4 separate regions of the Homo sapiens genome follow, and regions 1, 2 and 3 are each linked to region 4. The links are contacts of gene promoters, found by promoter capture Hi-C in human tissues and cell types (Jung and others, 2019). All regions are on one chromosome and are shown on one strand. Each heading gives the region's core, a stretch centred on a gene start or on the middle of the fragment in contact. The rest is flanking DNA. Distances are from core to core; before and after follow the strand shown. Region 1 holds the start of CHTF18 (chromosome transmission fidelity factor 18). Region 2 holds the start of NTN3 (netrin 3). Region 3 holds the start of KCTD5 (potassium channel tetramerization domain containing 5). Region 4 holds the start of NME3 (NME/NM23 nucleoside diphosphate kinase 3).

The links. Contacts are between HindIII fragments. The study calls those that stand out against the background at their distance.
Region 1: the fragment with the promoter of CHTF18 here is called in contact with the fragment with the promoter of NME3 in region 4 in 1 of the 25 tissues and cell types used here (dorsolateral prefrontal cortex).
Region 2: a contact is called between the fragment with the promoter of NTN3 here and the fragment with the promoter of NME3 in region 4, in 1 of the 25 tissues and cell types used here (dorsolateral prefrontal cortex).
Region 3: the fragment with the promoter of KCTD5 here is called in contact with the fragment with the promoter of NME3 in region 4 in 1 of the 25 tissues and cell types used here (stomach).

Annotation. Positions count from the first base shown.
Region 1 is chr16:787,370-790,731 of GRCh38, reverse strand. It overlaps CHTF18 (chromosome transmission fidelity factor 18), which reads right to left and starts at 2,112. Exons shown (of 22, transcript NM_022092.3): 1 at 1,957-2,112; 2 at 1,607-1,801; 3 at 1,372-1,522; 4 at 1,017-1,185; 5 at 463-555; 6 at 333-385; 7 at 66-207. The coding sequence starts at 2,047. RPUSD1 (RNA pseudouridine synthase domain containing 1) reads left to right here and starts at 2,351. Exons shown (of 6, transcript NM_058192.3): 1 at 2,351-2,476; 2 at 2,988-3,176; 3 at 3,255-3,362. The coding sequence starts at 2,995. RefSeq lists silencers at 1,819-1,878, 2,059-2,518, 2,539-2,628 and an enhancer at 3,078-3,362. The HindIII fragment of the contact is 13,916 bases long and covers 1-2,161 here.
Region 2 is chr16:2,466,884-2,473,100 of GRCh38, reverse strand. It overlaps NTN3 (netrin 3), which reads right to left and starts at 1,804. Exons shown (of 6, transcript NM_006181.3): 1 at 472-1,804; 2 at 212-400; 3 at 1-116. The coding sequence starts at 1,399. TEDC2-AS1 (TEDC2 antisense RNA 1) reads left to right here and starts at 4,888. Exons shown (of 1, transcript NR_135198.1): 1 at 4,888-6,217. RefSeq lists silencers at 1,527-1,666, 4,930-4,979, 4,990-5,329, 5,390-5,439 and enhancers at 3,600-3,679, 3,840-3,979, 3,939-4,482. The HindIII fragment of the contact is 12,116 bases long and covers 1-6,217 here.
Region 3 is chr16:2,680,348-2,686,520 of GRCh38, reverse strand. It overlaps KCTD5 (potassium channel tetramerization domain containing 5), which reads right to left and starts at 3,998. Exons shown (of 6, transcript NM_018992.4): 1 at 3,721-3,998. The coding sequence starts at 3,972. RefSeq lists enhancers at 3,316-3,365, 3,436-3,485, 3,030-3,640 and a silencer at 3,736-3,915. The HindIII fragment of the contact is 14,940 bases long and covers 1-6,173 here.
Region 4 is chr16:1,766,880-1,772,792 of GRCh38, reverse strand. NME3 (NME/NM23 nucleoside diphosphate kinase 3) reads left to right here and starts at 1,250. Exons shown (of 5, transcript NM_002513.3): 1 at 1,250-1,304; 2 at 1,383-1,513; 3 at 1,622-1,723; 4 at 1,800-1,912; 5 at 2,027-2,473. The coding sequence starts at 1,259. The coding sequence ends at 2,144. It overlaps MAPK8IP3 (mitogen-activated protein kinase 8 interacting protein 3), which reads right to left. Exons shown (of 32, transcript NM_001318852.2): 25 at 5,822-5,889; 26 at 5,496-5,644; 27 at 5,058-5,229; 28 at 4,875-4,988; 29 at 4,686-4,724; 30 at 4,415-4,594; 31 at 4,167-4,316; 32 at 2,442-4,090. The coding sequence ends at 3,969. It overlaps MRPS34 (mitochondrial ribosomal protein S34), which reads left to right. Exons shown (of 3, transcript NM_023936.2): 2 at 147-189; 3 at 280-898. The coding sequence ends at 572. RefSeq lists silencers at 1-44, 915-1,504, 1,815-2,014 and enhancers at 525-614, 4,125-4,174. The HindIII fragment of the contact is 25,298 bases long and covers 1-5,913 here.

The DNA of each region.
Region 1 (3,362 bases), core at 863-3,362, 980 kb after region 4:
GCCCAGGTTCTTCCATCTTGGGAACAGAGGAAGCCAGCCACACTTGAGTGAGAACAAGACCTCACGTCATCACTGAGCAGCTCCGTGTAGTGGCGGGGTGCAAACTCATCCACCCAGAGGCAGTGACTGGAGGCGTCTTGACCGTCAGTCGGCTCCTCCTCAGGGGCCCCCAAGGGCTGGGCTGCCTCCTCCTCCCCCGACCTGAGACTGGAGAGGACCACGTCCTGAGCCACAAACAACTCGCAGGGACCATGCCAACCCACACGCTAGGAGCTAGGAGTTGGTGCAAGAGCCAACAAGGGTCCCCAGGGCGGAAGGGCCAACCAAGTCACCTGTGCAGGGTGTCTGAAAGCTTCTGGGCCTCCTGAAGCAGCCGCTCCCGCCGCTGTGCAAACAACAGGCTGGAATCAGGAGGGCTCAGGCGGCCCCGCCACCGCCCCCCAGCAAACCCGCAGCCCCTACCTCGCCGTCGACCTGCTTCTTCAGGGAGGCTAAGGACACACCCAGCAGGTCCAGCTGGCCACCGCCTCGCCATGGGACGTGGAGGAGAGAGCCCTGTGGGGAAGGGAGGACAATTGCCTCTGGGCCCCTCCTAGGTCACAGGATTCACGTCAGCCCCCATCAGTGCTCAGGGACCCGGGTGGGACAACCCCAGTAAGCTGGCCAGTGAGGGGTGGGAGACTGGACAGGGGTGCCAAAGGAATGAAGCCATCCAGATGGGTCAGCTGCAAAGGGAAATTGGGGGCAGCTTTAGGAGAAAGGAGGAAAGGGCAAAAGCAGGAGGGGAAGCAAGGAGGCCCTCTCCACCCGAGGCCATACAAACAGGCTGGACAGCAACCTGCTGTGGGGAGGCTGTGTCCTCTAAGTCTACGCCCCATGACGCAGCCTCCCCCTCTGCACCCCTGGGGCTCTGCACAGGACCCGCTTTAAGCAAATGGCAGGGGTGAGGGGCTCCAAGGACCCTTTCCTGAGCAGCACTGGCCCACCCACCGTGCAGGAAGGCCACAGCCACGCACCTGCACCCCCGGGGCCATGGGGTCAGCACGCAGCACCAGATAAGCCCGGACGCCCTCCGTGGATGTCACGTGGACGTAGTCCTCCAAGATGGGGGGCCGCCTCAGGACGGGATTGCGGGCAGCTGGTGAGGCCCGTGTGAGACCCACGTCGGCAGCAGCTTCTGAGACTCTGGAGAGAGACCGGGGCTCAGTGGCAGAAACTCAAGCGTGGGGTCACCCTTGGATATGGGTGTCCGAGACTGCTCTCAGCCATGGAACCCTCCCCACCCCCCAGGCCTCATCCAGGGCACGGGATGGGCTCCATCTGAGTCCCACTGGACAGATGGGATGGGACGCCCATGTCCAAGCCACACACCCGTGGCCCCAAAGCTCTGCGAGGTCCTCAGGGCTCGGCGGCGGGGTGATGTCCGTCGGCGAGGAGTCGGGAGGGGGCGGCTCCTCCATCTCCTCCGATCTGAAGTTCAGCCTCTTGACCACCTGCAGCCTAGGCCGTTTGATCCTGGGGGCTGGGGGAGACACATGCAGGGAACCAGAGGCCTCCTCAGCCTCGCGCCCACTCCGGAGGCCCTGGGGCAATGCCGCCAACCTACCGTGGGGCAGGGACCCGGCCGGCTGCAGGTCGGCGTCCACCTGCCTCTTCCTGGCGCCGCCCTGGCTGCTGCCCACAGATGCGGCTGGGGCGGGACTGGAGGCCGCGTCCCCTCTGGCAAGGGCCTCCTCGAACGTCCGCGGGGGTCGGCCCGCGGTGAACAGGGGGACCCCGGAGGGCGACGGAGTCGACGCCCCTGCTGGGAGAGGAGATTGTCAGCGGCCGCCCCGAGACAGCAGATCCCGCCAGCGGCGACGTGGAGGCCCCTTCGGCCCCCGGCACGCCCTCCCCGAGGTCGCCACTGTCCCGGCTTTCGCAGCTCCTCCCCAACGGCCGGGGGCCGCGCCCCACCTTCCAGCTCTGCCAGCACCTCCAGCTCGGCCGCGAACTGGTTGTGGAAATCATCCTCGACGCCGCACAGCTCCTGCTCGTAGTCCTCCATACCGTCCGCGAGCCCGAGCTCCCGCTCCGAACCTCCCGCGCCGCCGCCGCCGTCGCGCACTGCCCGCCCCGAGCGTGCCGGGCGCCGCCAATCAGCAGCCGGCGTGCCCGGCGGCGCGCGCCATTGGTTGGCGTGGCGGAGGCGGGGCTGCGCGAGGGGTGGGCGGGGCGAGTTCCTGCTCCGCAGCCCCCGCGTCCTGTCCTGGGGAGCTCGCCATTGGCCGCCGCAGCCGCCCTTCCGCGGCGGGGGCGGGCCGGGGGCGGGCCGGGGGGGGGGGCGGGGCTGCGCGCGCAGCGGTGCAGGGCGGAAGCGCTGCCAGGCGTCCGGAGCGGAGCTTCCAGGGTCTCTGGGTCGCCAGCGCGCGGGCGCGCGGCTGGAGCCGGCGCCGGGCACGGCATCGGGGGCCTGGACTGCACGGCCCGGCAGCAGGTTGGTCTTGGCGTGGGCGTGGGCGCGGGAGGGGCTCGGAGCCAGGGTCGGCCTGCCCACCGGGCCTGTGCGGGGCGCGGGTCTGCGCGGACTGCGGGGAGCGAGGAGGCCCCAGCCCTAACCCGCGCTGCGGGCAGACCTGGCTGCCGGGCCTGGTAGTGCTGCAGCCCCTCCCCGCCCCCACCGTCGGGCAGAGGCATTCACGTGCATCCCCTGGAGGGGAGGGTCTGTGGGGAGGATCTGTGGGGCAGGTTTGGAACGGGCTCTTTCTCCAGGCTTAGGTCAGGCAGGGCCCTTCAGGTCAGCCCGGAGCAGGCTGACTCCTTGACTCCCCAGCTGACGCCCTGGGGACTGATCTCGGGGACTGAGGATGCAGGTGCACAGTAGGGCTGCGGACCCGGCTCGGTGGCTTCGCACCGGAGCCCGGGTGGGGCGGTGCGGGTACCTCTGTATGCTGGGCTGGGGGCGCACCACGTGCTCACAGCACACGCACCCACGCGTGGCTCGGCAGGCCGGCCATGGAGCCAGGCAGCGTGGAGAACCTGTCCATCGTGTACCGGAGCCGCGACTTCCTGGTGGTCAACAAGCACTGGGACGTTCGCATTGACAGCAAGGCGTGGCGGGAGACTCTGACCCTGCAGAAGCAGCTGCGGTACCGCTTTCCCGAGCTGGCCGACCCTGACACCTGCTACGGGTTCAGGTAGGGGGGGCGGCCGGAGCCCCACGGTGGCGTCTGTGGAGGAAAGTGGCTCAGACTCTGGACTCTGTCCCACTCCAGGTTCTGCCACCAGCTGGATTTCTCCACCAGCGGGGCGCTGTGCGTGGCCCTAAACAAGGCAGCCGCCGGCAGCGCGTACAGGTGCTTCAAGGAGCGGCGCGTGACCAA
Region 2 (6,217 bases), core at 555-3,054, 700 kb before region 4:
GAAGCCAGGCGCGCAGCGGTTGCAGGTGAGGCCAGTGACGCCATCCTTGCAGGGACACTGGCCTGTGGTCTGGTTGCAGGTCTTGCCAGCAGCACCAACCGGGTGACAGTCGCAGGCTGAGGACAGAGGTGGGAAGGGCCTGGTCAGAAGCCTGTCTGGGGATCTGGGAAGTCAGAGGGTGAGGGCCTGCAGGTGGCCGGTGGTGGCTCACCCCTGCAAGCCCGACGGTCACTCAGGGCACGGCCAGGGTCTCGATAGAAGCCCTCCCGGCAGTAGTGGCAGTGGCGGCCGGCGGTGTTGTGCCGGCAGTTGAGACAGACACCCCCGCTGCGGCGGCCGGACAGTCGGTACAGCTCCATGTTGAAGCGGCAGCGGCGGGCATGGCCGTTGCAGGAGCAAGCTGCAGGGAGGGATGGGTCAGGGGCAGGCTGGTTGTGTCCAAGGTCCCCAGGCCACCCTCCAAGGCCTCACCGAGGCAGGCGTGGGATTCCCGGGCAGTGGCCCGCTGCCATGGCCTGTCGCAGTAGAAGGGCTTGCAGCGGCCGCAGTCAGGGCCCTCGGTGCCATGCCGACAGTCGCAGATCAGGTGGCCCTGTGTGTCCAGCAGGCACCGTGAGGCATGTCCATTGCACTTGCAGCGCCCGCCCACCTGGAGGTCGGTGGCTGCGTAGGAGTAAGGGACGACGGCCTCCATGTCCCTGGGGTCACCTGCCGTGCTAGGCCTTGTGAGCACTACACGGACGTCGGTGGCGGTCACCCAGTCTTGGAGCACTGGGCTGCTGTCCAGGTCCAGGCCTGGGGGGCTGCTGTCCTGCATGCTGAAGGCCAGAAGGCCGCTGCCATCAGGCTGGGCCAGGGGTGCGGGGAAGCACAGGGCCTCAGGCCCTGGGCCAGCTGGGCCATTGGCAGGGGCAGGCAGACGGCCATAGTCCAGGTCACAGTGGGAGGAGAAGAAGCCCAGCGGGGCCCAGCTGCGGCCATGGTCCTGAGACTTGAGCAGGGCCACGGAGGCTGGGGGAGCTGAGCAGAAGCGCAGGCTCACGAAGACCAGCTCAAAAGCCTTGCCCAGGGGCACCGTGAGAGTCACGTTGAGGGGCGCCCGAGGCAGGGACTCCGAGCGCCAGCACAGAGGGCTGGCCGTGCCCCCTGGGGAAGTAAGGAGGGCGGGGGAGTGTGCCCGTCGCGGGTCGGAGGCGTCGCAGGCCCGAGTGGCCGGCCGCCCGCACGTGCTGGAAGCCAGCACCTCGCGGCCCAGGGCGGCGTTCACCAGTCCTGGCACGCAGCCGCGGGGCGCACCCCCCTCATCGTGGCAGGGGTCGGCGGGCGCCGGCGGCCCAGGACTCAGGGCGGCGAAGAGCGTGCCTGCCGTCAGCAGCAGCCCCCAGGGCCAGCCAGGCATGGCCGGAGCCGCTGCGGGTCAGCCAGTGGCCGGGCCCCAAGACGCTGCCCTTGGGGAAAAGAAGCCCTCTCCGCGGCTCTGCCCACCAGGCCCGCAATGCCGAGGAACAGGGCCCCCGGGCGGCCCCAGCCCGGCCCAGAGGTGGGAGCAGCGGCGGGCACGCCCCGGGCCCAGCACAGCAGCGGGGATGTTGGCGCGTCCTCCCGCTGGGCCTAGAGCGATGACAGGCGTCGCCCCCGCTCCCGGTGCCTCCGCCCGCGGAGGCCCCACCCGCCGCTCGCACTCACCCACCGAGGGCCGGGCGGAGCAGGTCTCCCGGCCTCCCGGGAAGGGCCGTGGGCGGGCGGGGCCTGCGGTGCACGGGCCGCCGCCTCCTCCCGGCTGCAGCGAGGGCGGACGAGCTGTGCCAGGAGGGGGTGGGGGGCGCAGCAGGCGCAAGCCCGGGCCCAGCCGGGGGCGGGGCTGCTCGGGTCGGGAAGGAGGCAGGGGAGGGGAGGGGGCCTCATCGCAGAGCTGGAATCAGAAGCAGATTCAGACGCGGGCTGGGCCAGCGGGGAAGGGGGCTGGGAGGCCCGGGAGCCAGGGGAGGGGCCGGGGAGCCAGGAATGCGCTGGCGGGAGGGGTCTGGAGGGGGGCAGCTCAGCCTTCGCAGCCCGTGGGGGACCACCCAGCAGGGTCCTGGGCCCACAGCCAGGTCTTTACTGCTCCTGGGGCTGTGCCACGTGCTGGACGGGGGTCTGGGTCGCCTCCTCCCTGAAGACCATCAGGCAGGCAAGGCCCCGGGTCTGACAGCAGAGGCCCTGGATGTTCCCCAGGTAGGGAAGCCAAGTAACCACCAGTTGAAGGGTCATCCCCAAAGCAGCATCTACTCGAGTAGAAGGAACCCAGGATTCGGTCAGGTCTAATTTTGAATCCAACTGCCCCATTTCTGGCTGCATGTCTTGGGCTCCTGTTTCCTCACCTGCCAGATGCCTGTTACTCAGCACGCGCTCTGAAGCTGTTGGATTTGATGAGTCTCAAGTGGCATCAGGCCCAAGTCGAGAGCTGCACAAATTGGAGTGTCTCCTGCCCATGTTGAGGAAGGGGGGCACCCCCATGGGCCTGAGCTGGGCTAAGACATGAGGCCAGCATCCCCTGCACCAGGCCAGATTCTGATCCCAAAGCTCCCTGGGTCTGCAAGTTTCTAGGGGCACCTCTGCCACGGGCCCAGCTGGCAGGGAGGACATGGAAGCTGGAGGGTGGGATGGGGTGGCTTCTTGGGGTTCGGGGGCTTGGTTAGCTGTTGAGGACCCCTCTGCAGGGGCAGGGAGTAGGGTTTAATCATGGGAAGGGGCTGGTCGCAACCCGGAGCCCACTGCCCTACGTCACAGCACGTTTGGGCAGGGAAACTGAGGCAGAAGCCCAGCTGGGTGGCCTGGGGACTAGCTGGGGATGGGGTAGCTGTGCCTGGGAGCGACACCACCAAAGAGGGTCCAGGAACAGCTCTGGTCAGAGAAACCTCCTCCCCTCCGACTTTCAGGTCCTTGACAGAGGAGGCCAAGCATCCCAGGGAGGGGCAGGGAACAAGTTCCGTGCAGGGCCAGCATCGAGGCCTGAATGCCCCGTTTCAGATGGGAGGCCAGGCCTGCAGCTGGTGGAGGAGGCCACGTGGGTGCTACCCTGGACACGACCAGAGATGAGCAAGGACCAGGAGGAAGAGAATGGAGAGGTAGACGCATCCCGCTGTTGGGGAGAGGAGGGGCAGGAGGACACGGAAGCCTCCTAGGGGAAACTGAAGGACCAGAGGAGGGAGCAGGAGGGCCTGACCATGGAGGGGAGGAACGGGAAGACAGGGTGATAGGGCACCTGGCTTGGCTCCTGGAGCAACTGACACTGGCTGGTGGGCACCTTCTCCTTGCCACACATCTGCATGTGACAGCCACAGATGCACAGGGATGGGGGCACCGGAGGACTGAACAGAGAGGGCTAAGGGGCTCTCTCTCTGCCACAGGGCCCCTGCCCCTCAGCTTCCTGATAAAGAGAATGGGAATTGTGTCCTTTACAAGTTGAGGGACCTCAACCTGACGGGGCTCACGCTCCGCTCTGTGGGTCAAGCTTAGAACCTGAAACGTCCCAACCACCCTCTTCAAGGTCCTTCTGGCTCCCAACCCCCACCCCCCGACACCCCACCCTAAGGGTGGGAGGAACCCTGGGGGGACTATGGGGGCTGAGATCATCATTCTGGGACAGTGGAGAGAAAAGCCCAGGCCTGACAGAGGGGTCCCACTGGCCAGAGACAAGCCTCTGGGGAAACCCAAGCTGTCTCTGGACGTCAGGGCCACTGCCAGACTGGCTGCCAGCCAGGCTGCAAGAGGGACAGTGGCCAGCAGCCTCTTCCACCCTCATCAGAGGGGCTGGCTTTGTCTCCAGCTCAGCTTCCCTGTGAGCCAGGACTGGGGTCTGCAGAACGTCTGGTGGCTTCTGGGGTGGGGGAAAGTAGGTGCCTGGGGCTCAGCCCTGCCCCAATTGTTCATCTGGGTCAGCAGCAGCGGCGGGAGGCCGTGGGCCCAGAGGGCCATTGTACCGCCAGCTCCCCAGGGAGGAGGCCGCTGGTCACAGGGCCTCTCCCCAGGAACAGTCCTCTGCACACGCTACTCTGCCCCCACCCCCAGCCCTCACAGATGGTGTTTGGGAGTTAGGAAGGGCCTCCCCACAGCGCCCAAGCGGGACTTATTGCTCCCCAGGGACCCAGCCACCTGTCCCAGCCCCTGGCTGGGGCCTCTCCCACCTCCCACCTCTCCACTGGCCCTGCCCCCTCCTGGCACCTTCTGCAACAAAGAAGCTCCGCCTCCCCTCCCCCCACCTGCAACTCAGGCCGCAGTGCTTCGCCTCCCCCTCCCCACCCCACCCCTCACCCCTAGAGTGGCAGCTCCAGCTTTGGGGCACAGGCTGGGGAGAGGGCATAGATGGGCTGGACAGTCCTAGGCGGCAGGGAGCTGAGAGTCTTTCCTGTAAGATGCCCGTTGATCCAATAATTCCCTGCCCAGCCCAGAACCTGCTGTCTCCCCCCAGACGCCTGCAAGCCACCACATGTTCACCTATTGCACATTTATCGAGCGCCTATTATGCCTCGGGGGGTTTCCAACCGAGCTCCGAAGGCAGACAGCCCAGGAGCAGACACAGCGCCGGCTCCCAACGGCGGGTGGTGTGGCCGAGCCCGCGTCGCGCTGCCCTGCACCCAGCACCCTCGCGCCGGGTCGATCCCCCAGCCTCGCAGACCGCTGCCCAGCCAGGCCGCTCTGCGGTCGCGCCAGCTCTGCGCGCCAAGTCAAAAGCTGAAATGCGACGTTGGACGGAGGAGGGAAGAGAGGGAAAGCAGAGAGGGAGGGAGGGAAACGGCCGGTGGCCTTCTCTGCCCAAAGGGTTCCAGAAGAAACGATTTGGGGATGGGGTGTGGGGGGCGGCCTCTGCGACCACGCTTGGCACTGCGCCCGCCCGGCCGGGGCGAGGTTGGAGGGAGGGGCGGCCGGCTCGCGGTGACCTCGATGGGAGGGGGCCTCGCCCGCGGCTCAGGGCGCCCCCGGCTCCCTGCGCCCGGCCCTTCGCCTCCGCCGAGCGCGCCAGCACAGGAAGGCGGCGGTCAGAAGCCCCAGGCCCGCACTGAGCGCGGCCAGCGACGAGCCCTGGGCCAGGTCCAGGCGGGGTCCCCGCAGCGAGAAGGTGATGGCCGTGGCAGCCGCACCAGCCAGCACGGCCACGGCACCGAACGGCAGAATGCAGCGAGGCCACGAGCCCCCAGCGCCGCCGGTGGCCAAGAGCAGGGCGCGCAGGGCCCCGGGGGGTTCCGGGTGCGCCAGACCCGGCCCGGGGGGCGAGGCGGGCGCCGCTGGGGGAGGCTCGAGCGCGCTCATGCCGCCAACGCGGTGGCCGCGCTCGGTGGGTGGTGTGGACGCCCGCGCAGTCCCAGTGGCGTTCCAGGCTCGCCACGTCAGAGCCCATTGGCTCCAGAGGCGGTGACGCCAGCCGGGAGCCCGAGGAGTCAGCTGCTACCTCTGGGTTTTGGCGGGGAATCGGGGTGGGCGGGCGTTAGTCCGAGGAGGCGGCTTGTCTTTCCCGCCCTGGACTCCTGTGTTGGGGCCTCCTCAGGACCCCCACAAAGCTATCTAGGCCGCCTCCCTGCTCCAGGACACCACTGTCCTCTGGGTTGGCCCCCGGGATTGGTGGATCATTGAGTCAGTGCACATCTGGCTCCCATCAGGGCCTGGCCGGGGTAGGGGGGATAGCACCCCTGTCCTCCTGAGGCAGACATCCAGTAGGCATGGGGGATGAGCCATGAGCCAAGTCAGCCAGTGAAATAACGTCAGGTAGAGACCACCTGCTCTGGAAAGCCACGGGGGTGTACGGTCGCAGCGTGGTTGGGGGTTTCAAATGAGTCAGTGGCTCCTGCAGATAGAGGCACCTGGGCATAAGCCTGGAGGCAGCAATGGGGTTGCCGGGAGGGGCGAGGCTGGCTGATCTGCACAAGGGGTGCGACCCTGGGGCTGCTGCCAGGCTGCGGTGGCAGGGGGTGGAGCTGCCCTGTCCCTGGAGGCGCCCCCTCAATGCAACGAGGACCATGGTTTTTGGTTTCCTGTCTTGGTCTCTGTCATCTGGTCCCCAGCAGCCCTCAACTTGGGACTCTGGGTCCGAGCGTGTTTCTGGCCCGCTGGACTATAAGGCCCTTTACAAGCACGACCTACCTGCGACGCTCCATCTGGTTCTCAGAAGACCCGGCTTTCTCCAGGTGTCATCCACCTCCTGTCCTGCTGCCCTGTCCAGGGGGGGCACCTTGGTGAAGAG
Region 3 (6,173 bases), core at 2,749-5,248, 910 kb before region 4:
CAAGTATCTCCACACTAAAGCAGGGGCTGCTTTAGCTGGAAACAACAAACTCGACTTTGTTTTCAACAATGCCTATGGGCCGGGGACCATGCAATACAAGAGACCTAACCAAAATGAATCGAGTCTTTGGGAAGCCGTATTCCACCTGGCCTGCCCTCGAAGACACCAAGGAAGAGAAAGATGACAGAACAGCAGATGAGCAGATGCTGAAATGCTCACCACAGCCACAGTCCTGCTGGAGGAAGTCCCAGGAGGAAGTGAGAATTCACACCGGGCTGTCTAGAAAGAGAACTTTGTGGCAGCAGGTCGGCCCTTGGAACAGCAGAGTAAGGGCTTGGGAGCGTGGAGTATGGCGGGTGGTGGGTCCCAAGCTGGGCTCTGAGGACTTGGTTGGGGGCAGTCACAGCCCAGAAGCTTAGATGTGGGGCCAGAGGGCAATCAAGCCAGCCCCTTGATGTGCGTGGCTTTCACCACCCTCCCTAACAACCCGTCTGTCAAGAGCTCCCCTCCCTACCAGATAGGATGCTTTAGCAGGGTGCTCTCCCAACCTCTCAGGCACCCAAAGCTTCTGTGGTTTCTTGGGAACTCCTCCCCCTTAAATCTCCCCACCCAACTCCTCTCCAGACCCCCACACTCTGCAAGCCCAGGTGCTCACTCCACACAAGTCTAATAATCCAGGCAGGGACTCTTCCACCAGATCCATGCTTAAGTCCAACTCGAGGAATATTCTTTCCTTAATCTCAACTCTGAGGTCAGGCCTTGGAGATCTTTACAGGTGAATCAACATCCTGTTTGTCTTCCAACGTGTCATTAATGGCCTCCCACTCCTGACACCCCTTCCCCCCCTCCTCAGATTCCTCAGTCAGCATTTAATTAGGAGGAATCTCCTGGGACATTCTTTCATCAGAGCCACTGGAGACAAAACTAAGATGAAGCATTTTACACATTTCCTCATTTGATGAAAAACACCGGAAAACACTTTAGTAACGTGACTAATATGAATTAGCACTACACTTTTGGCAAACTATCTGTCACTAAAACTAACCTTATTTACTCCAATTATTGTTTTCTCCTTTTCTTTTTTCTTTTTTTTTGAGACAGAGTCTCGATCTGTCGCCCATGCTGGAGTGCAGTGGCGCAACCTCAGCCCACTGTAACCTCTGCCTCTCGGTTCAAGTGGTTCTCCTGCCTCAGCCTCCCGAGTAGCTGGGAGTACAGGCACGCGCCACCATGCCCAGCTAATTTTTTTGTATTTTTAGTAGAGACGGGGTTTTGCCATGCTGGCCAGGCTGCTCTCAAACTCCTGACCTCAGGTGATTCACGCGCCTCGGCCTCCCAAAGTGCTGGGATTACAGGCGTGAGCCACCTTGCCCGGCCCCTACTCCAATTATTGTATGAGACAGAGACGACTGTATCTGCTACTTTACCTTCATGTTCTGAATTTGAGTTTACCATTTGGAAATCAAACCTGGTTAAATGGATGATGATGAAAAGAGCAAGTATAACACAGATATATTCAGAAAGATTAATTACCCCTCGCTCAAAGAATTGATTCCTACAGTAAAGCATTTTTTTGTTTGTTTGAGACAGAGTCTTCCTCTGTCATCCAAGCTAGAGTGCAGTGGCGTGATCTTGACTCACTGCAAGCTCCACCTCCCAGGTTCAAGCGATTCTTCTGCCTCAGCCTCCAGAGTAGCTGGGACTACAGGCACGCGCCACCACACCTGGCTTATTTTTTTTTTATTTTTTTTTTTTTGTGATGGAGTCTTGCTCTTTCACCCAGGCTGGACTGCAGTGGCGCTAACTAGGCTCACTGCAAGCTCCTCCTCCCAGGCTCACGCCATTCTCCTGCCTCAGACTGCCTAGTAGCTGGGACTACAGGTGCTCGCCACCGCGCCTGGCTCATTTTTTGTATTTTTAGTAGAGACAGAGTTTCATCATGTTAGCCAGGATGGTCTCGATCTCCTGACCTCGTGATCCGCCTGCCTCGGCCTCCCAAAGTGCTGGGATTACAGACGTGAGCCACCGCGCCCACCTTTTTGTATTTTTAGTAGAGACCGGGCATCACCATATTGGCCCGGTTGGTTTTGAACGAGATCCACCTGCCTGGGCCTCCCAAAGTGTTGGGATTACAGGCATGAGCCACCGCGCCTGGCCCATAATTTTTAACAAAGTCTTAAGGAACAGTAAAGCAAAGGGATCAACCACCTTAACTGTGCTAAAGTTCATCAACTGGGAATCAAGTGCTCCAGTGCTGAATAGACAACCATTGCCTCAAAGAACCCAATGGACAAGAGCAATTTAAACTCTAATTTCATATACAAAACAGGAATGCTTGAGTAGAAAGGCAAGGGAGTGACCACTAAGCCCTGTTATTTAAAAAGAAAAACCAAACAGTAAAACATACACCCACACTTATAAAAGGAAAATCACAGCTAACAAACGCCTATTTCTATCCTGGGGATGACTGTCATTTCCTGGGAGGTCAATTCTCTGAGTAGAGGGCTTGGTCAAATGAGCAATGGAAACAGTTGGAAGTTGTGGGGAGGCACAGGAGGGTTGGCATCTCAAACCCTCATTTCCACCCACAAGGCTGCCTTAGCAGTAACTCCAGATTCTCACTTCCTGATCACGGTCATGCCATGCTGAGAATGGTCTCAGTCAGGCTTCTCAAACTTGAAGAGGGATCCGAACCTTTCTGGGAAGCCTCCTGCATGGCAAATGTTGGCTGCCAAGGCACAAAGCCAAGCGCAGTCATGTAAGCTCAACTGAAAGACCCCGCAAAGTTAGTATAAGGCTTGTGAACTGCCTTGAATAAATATAGGTAACAACTTCTTCAAACAGGCTTTTTTGTGAGTTTCAATCCTGCACAACTCCCAAGACACGGTTCCTCGGCTCCACAACTCTTGATAAATAAAGGTAGCAAAAGGTTTCTATTACCATCTACCCAACAGCATGAGCATTTCGCTTGATGAAAGACAAGCTGCAAACTAACCTGGAAATTCCTGTCCTTTTGCGAAGACAGTGGGAAAACTAAGCCAATTAGAAAGCAGATTGAAAGATTCCTTACCTGACCCTTCCTGGACATCCCTAAAGCAACCCTTAATATGAGCAAAATCCCCTTCGAAAAATCATACTATATACTACGGACGCATCTTCTAAGAGGTGCTGAGTGGGTGCTGCGTGCTGTGGATGGAAAGGATGGAGCGCCAACTCTCTAAATGCAAGTCACCAGGGAAAAAAAGGGCCGCCCATATCAACCCCCACGTCAGCGTTAATTCAAACGTCCAGAATGTGAAACAACGCCAAGGGTTCTGTTTCCAGAGCCAGCAAGTACCCTGGGACAGAGAAGAGAAGGCGTTCACACACCCTGGGCAAAAGAACCTAGTGAGAAAAAGAAAGTAGAATCACAGCAAAGTCCGGGGTCTAGGAAGCCTCCTCCACCAAAGAGCAAAGAGGGCGAGGAAGAGACACCCCCAAGGTGAATCGACTCAGGATCCTCAAAGGCAGTGGACGCCAGGGCGCCATCCTCACCCTCCCCTCCCAGGGTAGGGGATCGGGGCAAGCTGGGGAGGAGCTGGCGACAAGGGAGCGCGGGGCTCGAAGCCCGAGGAGAGTCGCCCGCTCCCGCTGAAGTCTCCTCCGCACGAAGCAGGGCGTGTGCAGGAGCCGCAGGCCGGGAAGGCCAGGACCCTCCGGGCTGGCCCGTGAGGCCCTCACCTTGTCTGAGTCCAGGTCGGGATCGGCCTGGCATAAGCGGTACAGGAAGGATTTCGGGTCCCGGCACAGGGTCTGCCGAGTGGTGAGGAAGTAGGTGCCGCCGACGTTGAGTCGGACCCACTTGGACACGCTGCCAGGGCGCTGGGCCAGGGCGCCGAGCCCAGCGCTGCAGCGGCGGCACAGGCCGCCCCCCAGCCCCGCCCCGATGCCGCCCCGGGCCGGCGACAGGAGCTCGCAGTGATTCTCCGCCATGATCCCAGCAAGCCCCGCAACAGCTCCCTTCCACCGGAAGCGTCCGGCTTTTAATAGCGTCCTCTGAGTTCTGTCCCGCCCACAGGTCCGCCCTGGTAGAGCGCCCGCCCCGGCGTCACGCGGTAGGCGGAAGTTCCGGTCCCGAAAAGCAGGAGGCTGGGCCCGCTTCCGGCGGGAGCGGAGCACGGGGTGATCTGGGCACTAACGCTGATGGGGAGCAGCGGACATCAGCCTCGACCTCCCACGAGCGGTGCACGAGCGCCTGACCCAGACCTCGACCCTAGCCTTCACCCCCACCCTGACTCCAGTTCATGAACTGGTCAAAGGAAGAGCCATGCCAGCAAACGTCTACACTGTACATGCTTTTTATTACAAGACTACGGAGCATAGGAGGAAAATTCATCATCTGGTAACTACACCTAAAGCACAAATATTTGGGGGGAAAAAAAGAACAGATTCATTAAATTATATGATTAAATCATTGACCCAATAGAAAATTTATATAATAAGGGCGGGGCCTGGTGGCTCACGCCTGTAATCCCAGCACTTTGGGAGGCCGAGGCGGGAGGATCAGGCGGTCAGGAGATCGAGACCACGCTGGCCAACATGGTGAGGCCCGGTCTCCACTGAAAATACAAAAATTAGCCTGGCGCGGTGGTGGGCGCCGGTAATCCAAGCTACTCGGGAGGCTGCGGCAGGAGAATGGCGTGAACCCGGGAGGCAGAGGTTGCAGTGAGCTGAGATCTCGCCACTGCACTCCAGCCTGGTGATAGGGCGAGAGTCTGTCTCAAAAAAAAAAAAAGAAAGTTTTTGTAATAAAGCCAGAAAAAAGTTGTAAAATATATAGTAATTATTCACATTCAAGGCTGTATATCAATACATATAACAACGTGGCCCCGAACATGAATTCAATACAAATAATTCATATATTAGAATTTAGGCCGGGCGCGGTGGCTCATGTCTGTAATCCCAACACTTTGGGAGGCCAAGGTGGGTGGATCACGAGGTCAGGAGTTCAACATCAGCCTGGCCAAGATGGTGAATCTCCGTCTCTACCAAAAATACAAAAAATTAGCCAGATGTGGTTGTGGGCGCTCGTAATCCCAGCTACTCGGAGGCTGAGGCAGAGAATTGCTTAAACCCAGGAGGCGGAGGTTGCAGTTAGCCGAGATCAGGCCACTGCACTCTAGCCTGGGCGACAGAGTGAGACTCCGTCTCAAGAAAAAAAAAGAATTTAAATAACAGGCTGAACTAGAGGCCAACAATAGCCAGCAAATAACCTTCTATAAGATTAAAAACACAAAAGTGTATATCCTAATACCATTGTATTATTTGTTTTCATGAGTTCTTTTAATTTTTGCTTTGTCTGTACATCACAGTTACAGCTACAGACCAGGTAGAGAATATTACGCATGTTCTGACTGCCACCCACCTGAAAGACGTACTAGTCATTTATCCTATTTCATGTTGTGAAGGAACAGCTACAGCAGCTCTAAATACTGTAACAATTTAATTTTGCCAACATCCAACTTAACAGTCGTAATAGAGGCTTTTACCAGCACAATGACCCCTATTCGTAGTCATTCTGCCAGACGGTTAGGCTATGTGGGTTACACAGCTTAAAAAAGGTCTGCCTTTTGTAAAAAGTTCTCTGTACATAGTTTGGTGTTTCTTCATATGGAAGAAATGAGTTATGGGGAAAATTCAGGTACACACGTAGGCTCGTTCAGTTGCTCACCACAGCCATCTCAACAGATGAAAGTGCTCTTTGTTGGAAACAGCTTCCTCCTCACACCAGTTCTCCACAGGCAGCCTCATCTACAACCCTGCAATTTTGGGCCAGAAGTGGTGGCCCCTCAGAGGCTCTGAAGTGCCTCCAGCCCCGATTCAGGCACTTGCCACGTGTGCTGCGTAAGAAGGGACCCCACCCAGTGAGTCAACATAGGCTCATGTCAAGTTTGAAAATAACTGGGGAAAAGTGTATGACAACATCTTCCAGAACATAGTACCTTCACCGTATTCTCACAGCAGCTGCGATCTCTGAAGTCTCAGCAGTGAGCACCCCGGGTCTGTCAACCAGCCAGGCAAGGGGGGGCCCTCAGGCTTCAGAGGGCAAGAAACCAAATTCCGTGCAATTTGGCCATAATCTCTGGTAGAGTGAAGCAGCACTGAACGCAGTGCCTAGAAAAACCTCCTGCACG
Region 4 (5,913 bases), core at 1-2,500:
GCACCCCGTCCGCACCCCGCCCCTGCAGCCGCCTGGTCTCCCCGCCTCCCCTCCTCCCTGCAGGTTTGCGTGGCTGAGGCTCCCACCTCCTGACCTCGGGGGCCGAGAGCTTTGCGAGCTGACCCCGCTTCCTTCTGGCTTTGCAGAACTTGGACCACGGGAAGGCCTGGGGCATCCTGACCTTCAAAGGTAAGGCTCGGGAGAGCGGGTGCCCGGCAGTTCGATGCCGACCGCCGACGGCACAGCAAGTGTGTGCAGACGCCTCTTTTTCTTCATCAGGGAAGACTGAGAGCGAGGCGCGGGAGATCGAACACGTCATGTACCATGACTGGCGGCTGGTGCCCAAGCACGAGGAGGAGGCCTTCACCGCGTTCACGCCGGCGCCGGAAGACAGCCTGGCCTCCGTGCCGTACCCGCCTCTCCTCCGGGCCATGATTATCGCAGAACGACAGAAAAATGGAGACACAAGCACCGAGGAGCCCATGCTGAATGTGCAGAGGATACGCATGGAACCCTGGGATTACCCTGCAAAACAGGAAGACAAAGGAAGGGCCAAGGGCACCCCCGTCTAGAATGCCAGAACCAGCGGGTGGCCTTAGGGGCTGTGAGGCAGTGGGGACCTTATTGATGAAAGAAACCGTCTTTGCGTTACACCCGAGTCTGCCTCTCGGAGCAGGGAGCTCACCTTCCGCGACGTGTTCTGAGGGTCTGCATCTTAGGGGGGAGGGCTGGGGCAAATCGCCACCTGTGCCTTTCCTCTGGCCCTGCTGCCCCCACACCCAACTCCGAGGGCCCACGCTGGGGAAAGCGGGAAGCGCTCGCTCCCTTTCCCCCATTAGTGCTCTCTCTGCCTGGATCCCGGCAGAAGCTATGAAAGGGAATAAAGAGAAAAGAAGTACCCAGGGTCGTGGTGTCTTTGCGCTCTGTCTTTAGGACCGGGGAGAGAAGGGCTGACGCTGTGGTCGTGGCCCTGGCCGGGGGGGCGCGGGGGGGGCGGGGTTCGGGCGGTGCGGAGCAGGGCGCCGCGTGGGTGGAACCACCTGGGCGGGTTGTGGGGGATACAGTTAGTGTCCGAGCTGCTGGAGGAGACTTGGCCTCCGCAGCTGCCCTCCGGCCCCCCACGGCTGCCGGGTTCCGGGGTGCAAGTGAAGCAGCCTCCCCGCGGAGGCCGCAGCGCCCCGACCAGGCCTCTTTAAGCGCAGGCCCCGCCCCGGGCGCCACCGCCCCGCCCCGCGGATCCCGCTCCCGCACCGCCATCATGATCTGCCTGGTGCTGACCATCTTCGCTAACCTCTTCCCCGCGGGTGAGCCGCGCGGCGCGGGCCGGGGGCGGGTGGCCGGTGCTGGGCCGGCCTGACGGCCCGTCCCCGCCTGCCCCGCAGCCTGCACCGGCGCACACGAACGCACCTTCCTGGCCGTGAAGCCGGACGGCGTGCAGCGGCGGCTGGTGGGCGAGATTGTGCGGCGCTTCGAGAGGAAGGGCTTCAAGTTGGTGGCGCTGAAGCTGGTGCAGGTGGGGGCGCGGTGAGCGAGCGGGGGCGCGGTGTGGGGGGAAGGGGAGCGGGGACCTGGGGACGCCTAGGTGCCGGGTGCGGGCGCAGGCGGCCTGACCCTTCCGCAGGCCTCCGAGGAGCTGCTGCGTGAGCACTACGCCGAGCTGCGTGAACGCCCGTTCTACGGCCGCCTTGTCAAGTATATGGCCTCCGGGCCGGTGGTGGCCATGGTGAGTATCCGGGAAGCGGGCGGGCGGCTCCGGGACCCCCACCCCCGCGTGATACCGCGCCCGTTCCTCCGCACAGGTATGGCAGGGGCTGGACGTGGTGCGCACCTCGCGGGCGCTCATCGGAGCCACGAACCCGGCCGACGCCCCGCCCGGCACCATCCGCGGGGATTTCTGCATCGAGGTTGGCAAGTAAGGCCCGCCCCGGGGACGGTCCCAGCCCCGTCCGGCCTCCCCCTGTTCAGCCTGCGTGGTACCCGTGCCGGAGGTCTCTTTCCCACGCTCACACGCGCCTCTTCCGCGCAGGAACCTGATTCACGGCAGCGACTCGGTGGAGAGTGCCCGCCGCGAGATCGCTCTCTGGTTCCGCGCAGACGAGCTCCTCTGCTGGGAGGACAGCGCTGGGCACTGGCTGTATGAGTAGCCCGGCAGATGCGCGTCACAGAGGCTCTCACACTCCAGCCTCCTCCAGGGCCCAGGTGGGCGGGCTTCTGGCCCCACCCCACAGCGCTTGGAGCATCCCTTTGGACGGGCTGCTGAACATCCACCTGTCTGGACGTTGCATGGAGGGTGGCGCAGGCCTCTCCAATCCCTGGCGTACAGGGTTTCCTGCCCGAGGAGCTGCTCCAGGAGCCTGCGCGGCTCGCCTGGAAACGTGCCAGGACACTGTCCTGGTGCCCAGCCCAACGTGGTCCAACGTTTTTTTATAATAAAGTCCTCGTTTTCGTTTCGATTTGGGCCCAGGAACAGGCAGCTACGACGTTAAGACATTTATTACATACAGAGCAGATATGTGGGTTTGCTTGCAGGGCCAAAGCCTGAGGAGAATCGTCACCCCTCCCCCAGCCGCCCCACTGCTCAGCCCGGAGTCACTTCGAGATCCTGGGGGAACAGACGAGGGAGCGGACATACATCACAGTGGAGGTGGCAGGGTGGTGGGGAGAAGCCGGCAGCGCAGCGGCTGCAGCCCTCGGTGGCCAGCGGGGCTTGTGGGGCAGCTCCCCAAGATCTGTGCTTCTCTGGTTGGGGGTGGGTGCGGGGGCTGGGCTGCCCTCATAAGGGCCTCCCAGACAGGAGTGCAGTGGGCCTGGAAGGTAGGAATAGGCCAGAGAGGCCCAGCTGGGCAGGGAGAGCAGTCCAGGGTGGCGTCTGCCCTCTGCGGGCTTGGAGTCGGCTGGGGGCGGCTCCATCCTCAGCCCCACGGGCCTCTGCTTGGTGGCCTCTCTGTTGCTCCCTGGAAGCAGGCCACAGCGGGCAACCCTAGGCACTTAGTAGCGTGTCTGGGAGCTGGGCTCCGTGGAGCCCCGTGCAGGAGGCAGGCCCCGGGAGCACATCATCCCCCATCAACCTGAGGCTGAGCCTGTGTCCTAGGACTGATCCCGGAGAGGCCAGGGGCCTCCCCTTCTTCCTGAGGCCTGGGCCTGCCCTGGCAGCCTGAGAAATCCCACCCTGGGGGCTTCTGGGAGGGACAGGACTCCAGGGCCCACTCCTCCAAGGTGAGTCTTCTGCCCAGGCAGAGCCTGGGGGGACACGGGTCAGAACGGGGCTGGCAAGAGCCTGCCTGCATGGGCAGGATGGGGTAGCAGTCTCTGTTCTCAAGCAGCTGCCCCAGGGAGCCGGGCCTCGTGCTTTTATGCCAGCTCCCTGGGCAGGGGACAGCTGGGGTGGGGACAGACAGGATAGAGGCTTGACGACGGGGAGGCCCCAGAGAAGGCCGGCTGGGGTGCAGGCACCTGGGCAGCCTGAGGCCCACCTCCCTGGGCAAAGGCTAGTGCCTGGCCCAGCTCCCCTAGGCAGAGTGAGGGCCCAGGAGGCAGGGTGGCCCCATGAGCAGCATGCAGAGGTGGGCCCAGGGCAGGCAGCCTCGGCGGCGGGGAGCCCCTGCCTCCTCCAGGGGTGCTGGGGAGTAGGAGGCCCAGGGTAGAGCCAGGACCACCTCGGATTCTGCCTGCGCTGGGCCCAAGGTGCCCTGGACTTGAGGACTCTGGGCTGGAAGCTGGCCAGGAGCTGCCCGGGAAACTGTCCCGAGAGCATCTTCCCCTCGGGTGGAAGTTCCCCTCCCCTCCTCCTCCCAGCTGATCCGCATCCCCGCACTCCCTGCCCGCTGGAGGGGCCAGACTCAGGTGAAAGCTGCAGGTTGAGAGGTTAGAAGAGGGGCGGCGGCGCCTGGCTGGCTACCCCGCGGGCCGGGCGGGGGTCAGGTGGTCGGGGGTCCTATGTACAGGTCGGGCCAGGCAGGGCAGCAGCTTCACTCGGGGGTGTAGGACACCTGCCACACGATGATGTGACTGCGCTCTGCCTTGGACAGCACGGGCTTCACCTGGCTCATGTCCCCTGCGCCCTCCTCCGTCTCGTCGTCCTCTCCGTCTCCTGCGGGCAAAGCAGCAGAGTGACGGCCAGGCTCCCCCCGCGCCCAACCTCAGCCCTGTCCCTGGGCCCCGCTCACCAATGCGGAAGTCGATGTAGCCCTCCCCGCCGCTCAGCACCAGCACGTTCCGCAGCTTCTGGCCCTCGACCTCCGAGGCAGGGGCAGCTGGCCCAGGGCCCTCGGCTGGGCTGTCCAGCACACTCCCATTCAGGGTGGCCAGCACGTTCCCTGGGATGGCAGAAGCGATTCAGGACAGCGGCCTCCTGGGGGAGGCGGCGGCCACTGGCATGCAGGGGATGTGGATGGCAGGAGGGGCCCAGCCTCACCTGGCACCGAGACAAAGAACTTCACGGCATCGCGGTGCCCATGGAAGCATAGCTGGGCCTGGGCCATGGAGCAGTAGGGGATGAAGCTGCTGGCCGCCCTGTCACTGCTGTCATCGCCATACACGTGGATGATGCCCCCGGGACGGGCGCCCTCCCCAGAGGTGGGGGATGTCTTATTGGCTGCAGGGAGAGAACCCAGAGGCGCTGAGCCCGCATACAGGTGGAGAGTGGGAGAGGCTCCCGTGAGGGGACACGAGGTGGCTGGGCTTACCTCGGAGCCCCAGGAGCTGGCCTCGGTGCAGGACCACAGCTGGGGACATGGGAGGAGCATGGGAGAAGAGGAGAGCGGTCAGCGTAGGGGCAGCAAGGCACCCTCCAAGGTGGCCCTGCAGAGCCACCCCGTGAACCCACGTACACCTCTGGCAGCACCACTGCCCCTGCAGGTGTGCAGGCCACTCACTCTCTGTCAGGGGGATGGAGATGACCACTCCGTTGCCGGTGCCCACCCAGAGCCGGCTGCCCGCGACAAGCAGGGCCGTGATGCGTACGAAGGAGAAACCCAGCTTGCCAGTGCCTGTGGGGGAGAGCGGTCAGGGTGGCTGGCCTTGAGCACCCCACCACCCCATCTGGCGTGGCCCCTCACCTAGCATCTTGCTGACGTAGGGCTCAATGTCCACGTCCTGTAGATGCTGGTGCGTGTGTGCATGGTAGAGCCTCAGGGTGGAGTCCAGGCGGATGGACACCCATACGCCATCGCCGATCCACGCCAGCTGCCGCACCTGGCTCTCCCGCCGCGGGTGGGCGTCAAATGACTTCTGTGGAGTCATGGCTGCCCATCAACAGGGCTGGGGAGAGGAGAGGAAGTGGGGAGCCCCAAACCTGCCACAGCTCCAGGGCCACCTGCAGTCCCCTCAGACCTCCCAGCCAGCGCCTGCTTTGCGCCTGTTCGAGCCTGAGTCATAGGTGGTACAGGGGAGATGGGACCCACGTAGGGCCTCGTGGACTTCCGTATGGAAGATGCGGGAGAGCTGCTGGCCAGCAGGAGCCTCTTCCCCTCCCCGGGGCCCTGGCCGGCACTCGCCTCTATCTGCATGGTCTTGGGCTGGATGACGTGCACCTTGTTCTTGTAGCCACACCACACGCGGTCGTACACAACAGCCATGCAGCGGATGGAGTGGTGCGGGTGGCCCAGGTCCATTAGGTGATAGTTGCTCAGATCCCACTGGCCATCTGGAGGGAGCCCCGGACACCTGCTCAGGCCTGGCCAGGCCCCACCTCTGCTCAGGGCATCGGGTTGAGACACCCACTGCCAGACTAAGGAGAGGCCTGGAACCCCGGGAGCCCCTTGGCTAAACAATGCCAGGGCCATCAGCTGCCACCCACACACCCCGTGCTGCCAGGCCCCACCTTCACCACGGTGGAAGATGGCCAGGGTCCCGTCCGCCAGAGCCACCAGCACACGGCCTTTGACATGCCTGAAACAGGAATGCGGTGAGCCT